2 separate regions of the Homo sapiens genome follow, and region 2 is linked to region 1. Evidence: promoter capture Hi-C in human tissues and cell types (Jung and others, 2019). All regions are on one chromosome and are shown on one strand. Each heading gives the region's core, a stretch centred on a gene start or on the middle of the fragment in contact. The rest is flanking DNA. Distances are from core to core; before and after follow the strand shown.

Region 1 (2,700 bases), core at 201-2,700:
TAGCCTGGCCAACATGGTGAAACCCTATCTCTACTGAAAATACAAAAAGCTAGACGTGGTGGCACACACCTGTAATCCCAGCTACTTAGGAGGCTGAGGCAGGAGAATTGCTTGAAGCCTAGAGGTGAAGGTTGTAGTGAGCCGAGATTGCATCATTGCACAATGGAGGGGAGCCACCAGCCTGGGCAACAAGAGGAAATCTCCGTCTCCAAAAAAAAAAAAAAAAAAAAAAGAATTAGGCTGGGTGGTGCCTGTAGTCCCAGCTACTTGGGAGGCAGGGGGTCCACTTGATGTCGAGACTGCAGTGAGCCATGATCCTGCCACTGCACTCCGGCCTGGGCAACAGAGTGAGACCCTGTCTAAAGAAAAAAAAAATAAAGCAACATATCCTGAACAAAGGATCCTCCATAACGTTCCCACCAGATTTCTAATCAGAAACATGGAGGCCAGAAAGCAGTGGAGGAGGACGACCCTCAGGCAGCCCGGGAGGATGTTGTCACAGGCTGGGGCAAGGGCCTTCCGGCTACCAACTGGGAGCTCTGGGAACAGCCCTGTTGCAAACAAGAAGCCATAGCCCGGCCAGAGCCCAGGAATGTGGGCTGGGCTGGGAGCAGCCTCTGGACAGGAGTGGTCCCATCCAGGAAACCTCCGGCATGGCTGGGAAGTGGGGTACTTGGTGCCGGGTCTGTATGTGTGTGTGACTGGTGTGTGTGAGAGAGAATGTGTGCCCTAAGTGTCAGTGTGAGTCTGTGTATGTGTGAATATTGTCTTTGTGTGGGTGATTTTCTGCGTGTGTAATCGTGTCCCTGCAAGTGTGAACAAGTGGACAAGTGTCTGGGAGTGGACAAGAGATCTGTGCACCATCAGGTGTGTGCATAGCGTCTGTGCATGTCAAGAGTGCAAGGTGAAGTGAAGGGACCAGGCCCATGATGCCACTCATCATCAGGAGCTCTAAGGCCCCAGGTAAGTGCCAGTGACAGATAAGGGTGCTGAAGGTCACTCTGGAGTGGGCAGGTGGGGGTAGGGAAAGGGCAAGGCCATGTTCTGGAGGAGGGGTTGTGACTACATTAGGGTGTATGAGCCTAGCTGGGAGGTGGATGGCCGGGTCCACTGAAACCCTGGTTATCCCAGAAGGCTTTGCAGGCTTCAGGAGCTTGGAGTGGGGAGAGGGGGTGACTTCTCCGACCAGGCCCCTCCACCGGCCTACCCTGGGTAAGGGCCTGGAGCAGGAAGCAGGGGCAAGAACCTCTGGAGCAGCCCATACCCGCCCTGGCCTGACTCTGCCACTGGCAGCACAGTCAACACAGCAGGTTCACTCACAGCAGAGGGCAAAGGCCATCATCAGCTCCCTTTATAAGGGAAGGGTCACGCGCTCGGTGTGCTGAGAGTGTCCTGCCTGGTCCTCTGTGCCTGGTGGGGTGGGGGTGCCAGGTGTGTCCAGAGGAGCCCATTTGGTAGTGAGGCAGGTATGGGGCTAGAAGCACTGGTGCCCCTGGCCGTGATAGTGGCCATCTTCCTGCTCCTGGTGGACCTGATGCACCGGCGCCAACGCTGGGCTGCACGCTACCCACCAGGCCCCCTGCCACTGCCCGGGCTGGGCAACCTGCTGCATGTGGACTTCCAGAACACACCATACTGCTTCGACCAGGTGAGGGAGGAGGTCCTGGAGGGCGGCAGAGGTGCTGAGGCTCCCCTACCAGAAGCAAACATGGATGGTGGGTGAAACCACAGGCTGGACCAGAAGCCAGGCTGAGAAGGGGAAGCAGGTTTGGGGGACGTCCTGGAGAAGGGCATTTATACATGGCATGAAGGACTGGATTTTCCAAAGGCCAAGGAAGAGTAGGGCAAGGGCCTGGAGGTGGAGCTGGACTTGGCAGTGGGCATGCAAGCCCATTGGGCAACATATGTTATGGAGTACAAAGTCCCTTCTGCTGACACCAGAAGGAAAGGCCTTGGGAATGGAAGATGAGTTAGTCCTGAGTGCCGTTTAAATCACGAAATCGAGGATGAAGGGGGTGCAGTGACCCGGTTCAAACCTTTTGCACTGTGGGTCCTCGGGCCTCACTGCTCACCGGCATGGACCATCATCTGGGAATGGGATGCTAACTGGGGCCTCTCGGCAATTTTGGTGACTCTTGCAAGGTCATACCTGGGTGACGCATCCAAACTGAGTTCCTCCATCACAGAAGGTGTGACCCCCACCCCCGCCCCACGATCAGGAGGCTGGGTCTCCTCCTTCCACCTGCTCACTCCTGGTAGCCCCGGGGGTCGTCCAAGGTTCAAATAGGACTAGGACCTGTAGTCTGGGGTGATCCTGGCTTGACAAGAGGCCCTGACCCTCCCTCTGCAGTTGCGGCGCCGCTTCGGGGACGTGTTCAGCCTGCAGCTGGCCTGGACGCCGGTGGTCGTGCTCAATGGGCTGGCGGCCGTGCGCGAGGCGCTGGTGACCCACGGCGAGGACACCGCCGACCGCCCGCCTGTGCCCATCACCCAGATCCTGGGTTTCGGGCCGCGTTCCCAAGGCAAGCAGCGGTGGGGACAGAGACAGATTTCCGTGGGACCCGGGTGGGTGATGACCGTAGTCCGAGCTGGGCAGAGAGGGCGCGGGGTCGTGGACATGAAACAGGCCAGCGAGTGGGGACAGCGGGCCAAGAAACCACCTGCACTAGGGAGGTGTGAGCATGGGGACGAGGGCGGGGC
Region 2 (2,840 bases), core at 272-2,771, 120 kb before region 1:
CCAGATTCCAGCCAGATGACTCCTATAAACACAACATACAGTCAGTGTAAATGAACCTAAACAGATTTACCAGTACCTGTACATTACTAAACAGATGTAAATGAAAAGATACACTATGCATTGAACTTAATGCTACTTTTTTGTTTTTTGTTTTTTGTTTTTCTAGTAGATGTGAGTTTAAATATAGCAGGAATAGGATTTTCATCTTCTCTTGTTGAAAGTCTTCGTGGAAGTGGATTTAAGTTCTAGCATATTCAGTAGGAGAAATTTGAGCTGGAATGAAGGACATCACAGCCTGCATAATTTGTTAAATGTCTCTTTAAAAAAAAAAAAAAAACTTTGCTACATTGGCTAGCGCATGTGCTGAAAGTTGGCTTCCCCTAAAGATAAGGGACACAGGCCAAATGAAGCCTATGGGAATGAAACACATCAGAGAAAATAAAAGAAAAAAGAAAATTTCTGTTCAGCCAAGTTTGCTAAGTAGTTGCCATGCTAGGCACACACACACAAAAATCAAATAAAACACTTCACTTTTCCTTAGAGTTCAGGGTCTGTGGGAGAGTCCAATATGGAAAATTAACATTTATCAAACGTATGAATGATTGATAAGGCTGTAATAGTGGTGTAGCTGGAGTGCTGGGGAGAACTAGGCAAGAGGCTGCTCCCTCCTGATCAAGTATGGGAAGAATATTGGAGAAGCCGGTAGAGGAGGGAGCATTTGGGTAGACCTTGAAGGATGGACGAGAGAGAGAGACAAGTGGAAGAGTGGAGAAAGAGCATTCCTAAGAGAGGTCTTTTGGGAACCAAGGCTCAAAAGTATGTAGCATATTATCAATCAAACCCTGGGCCCTTAGGCTAAGGGCCTAGAGATGACAGAGGGGAAGGTCAGAAGGGAGCGTGGGCCTAATAGTATGAGAGCAAGGTGGGAATAGCTTTGAACCTGGGGCTGGGGCACTTGAGTCTCATAAATGGAACAAAGTTTTGTGAAGAGAGGTGTGAATACATGGTTGGGGGCGTTGTTCTGACTGAGGAGAGATGGTGGTGGGAAGGAGAGGGGAGGGCCGGAAACAGATGATGAATTGATCATCTTGGCCTCTTACTGTTCTGATTTTCTCATGCCCAAAGCCCTAGTCTGCATAAGAAGGATCTGTAAAATTTAGCAATTGGTTTAAATAAAATGGATTTACAGGAAATTTTGGCATCAACCCATGTTGATTCCAAAACAGGTCGGCAAGCATATTTTATTTACCCAAACATTTATAACAATAAATAATGTGGTTTTGTTGTTGTTGTTGTTGTTGTTGTTGTTGTTGTTGTTGTTTGAGATGAAGTCTCACTCTGTTGCCAGGTTGGAGTGCAGTGGCGCGATCTCAGCTCATGGCAGTCTCCTCCTCCCGGGTTCAAGTGATGCCCCTGCCTTAGCCTCCCAACTAGCTGGGACTACAGGCACGCACCACCAAGCCCGGCTACTTTTTTTTGGTATTTTTAGTAGAGACGGGGTTTTACCATGTTGGTCAAGATGGTCTCGATTTCCTGACCTCGTGATCCGCCCGCCTTGGCCTCCCAAAGTGCTGGGATTACAGGCATGAGCACCATGCCCAGCCAACATTGTGAATATTTTTATATAAACAATAAATTCCAAGGGCCAGGACTTGTTCTAAACATTTGACAAAAAAGTTAGGAGATAGTGTTATTACCTCTGTTTTTCAAACGAGAAAACTGAATAACGGAGGTTGAGTGACTTGCCCAAGGTCACCCAACTATTAAGTAGCAGAGCCAGGATTGGGAATTGGGAAAAACTCTCACCTCTAATCATGTTTTTCCTCTACCTTTTTTTTTTTTTTTTTTTTGAGACGGAGTCTTGCTGTGTCACCCAGGCTGGAGTGCAGTGGTGCCATCTCTTCTCAAGCTCTGCCTCCCAGGTTCACGCCATTCTCCTGCCTCAGCCTCCAGAGTATTTGGGACTACAGGCGCCCGCCTCCACCCGCGGCTAATTTTTGTATTTTTAGTAGAGACGGGGTTTCACTGTGTTGGTGAAGATATTCTCGATCTGCTGACCCTGTGATCTGCCTGTCACGGCCTCTCAAAGTGCTGGGACCAGCTCCTTTTGGATTTTTATGGAAGTTTCCTGATGTCAATTTCTTCTCCCAGGGTATAGGGCTGGACGCCCTCTGAGGAGGGTCTTAAGAGCCACAGTCTGAGAGGTGGGAAAGGATTAGAGTCCTGCCTTAGGGCAGGTGAATGGAGGACAGGTGAGAGATTGTTTCCCCAGGCCTTAACATACCCAATATTATAACAAAACACTGTTACAAGGGCTGGACAATACCCAGTATATATCATGATACCACAGGCACCCTGGCTCTGGACTCTGTGCCCTTAACCTGTACCCTGTGTGAATGTTTAATTTAAATGAGCTGGAATATAACTTGCAGGATAAGTTTGTGGCCATTTGAAGAGGAAGAGTTTAGTTTTGGATTATAGAAACAAAGAAAAAGAAAGTGGAGTGGAGCTGGGAAGTACCATCCTGGGATCTACCTGGGAGAATAGTCTGCTGTGTGAGGGCAAGGACTTGTCTGTTGCCCATCATATTCCCAGCATCTAGAACAGTGCTTGATATGTAGCTAATGCTTAGCAGATATTTTTGAGTGAATCAGTAAATAAAATTTCGCTGCCAGCTCTCAAAGGAATATGCTGTGGAAGCTTCAGTTACTTTTTTTTTTTTTTTTTTTTTTTGAAAGGGAGTTTTGCTCTTGTTGCCCAGGCTGGAGTGCAATGGCACGATCTCAGCTCACCGCAACCTCCGCCTCCCGGGTTCAAGCGATTTTCCTGCCTCAGCCTCC

What was found. Contacts are between HindIII fragments. The study calls those that stand out against the background at their distance.
Region 2: a contact is called between a fragment that was not itself captured here and the fragment with the promoter of CYP2D6 in region 1, in 5 of the 25 tissues and cell types used here (IMR-90 fibroblasts, dorsolateral prefrontal cortex, hippocampus and 2 more).

Annotation. Positions count from the first base shown.
Region 1 is chr22:42,129,560-42,132,259 of GRCh38, reverse strand. It overlaps CYP2D6 (cytochrome P450 family 2 subfamily D member 6 (gene/pseudogene)), which reads left to right and starts at 1,450. Exons shown (of 9, transcript NM_000106.6): 1 at 1,450-1,648; 2 at 2,351-2,522. The coding sequence starts at 1,469. RefSeq lists a cis regulatory region at 154-165 and promoters at 1-1,391, 978-1,444. The HindIII fragment of the contact is 22,528 bases long and covers 1-2,700 here.
Region 2 is chr22:42,253,970-42,256,809 of GRCh38, reverse strand. All of the region lies in intron 1 of TCF20 (transcription factor 20), which reads left to right. Among named protein-coding and RNA genes, the nearest start is that of TCF20, 15 kb to the left of the region's middle. The HindIII fragment of the contact is 7,259 bases long and covers 1-2,840 here.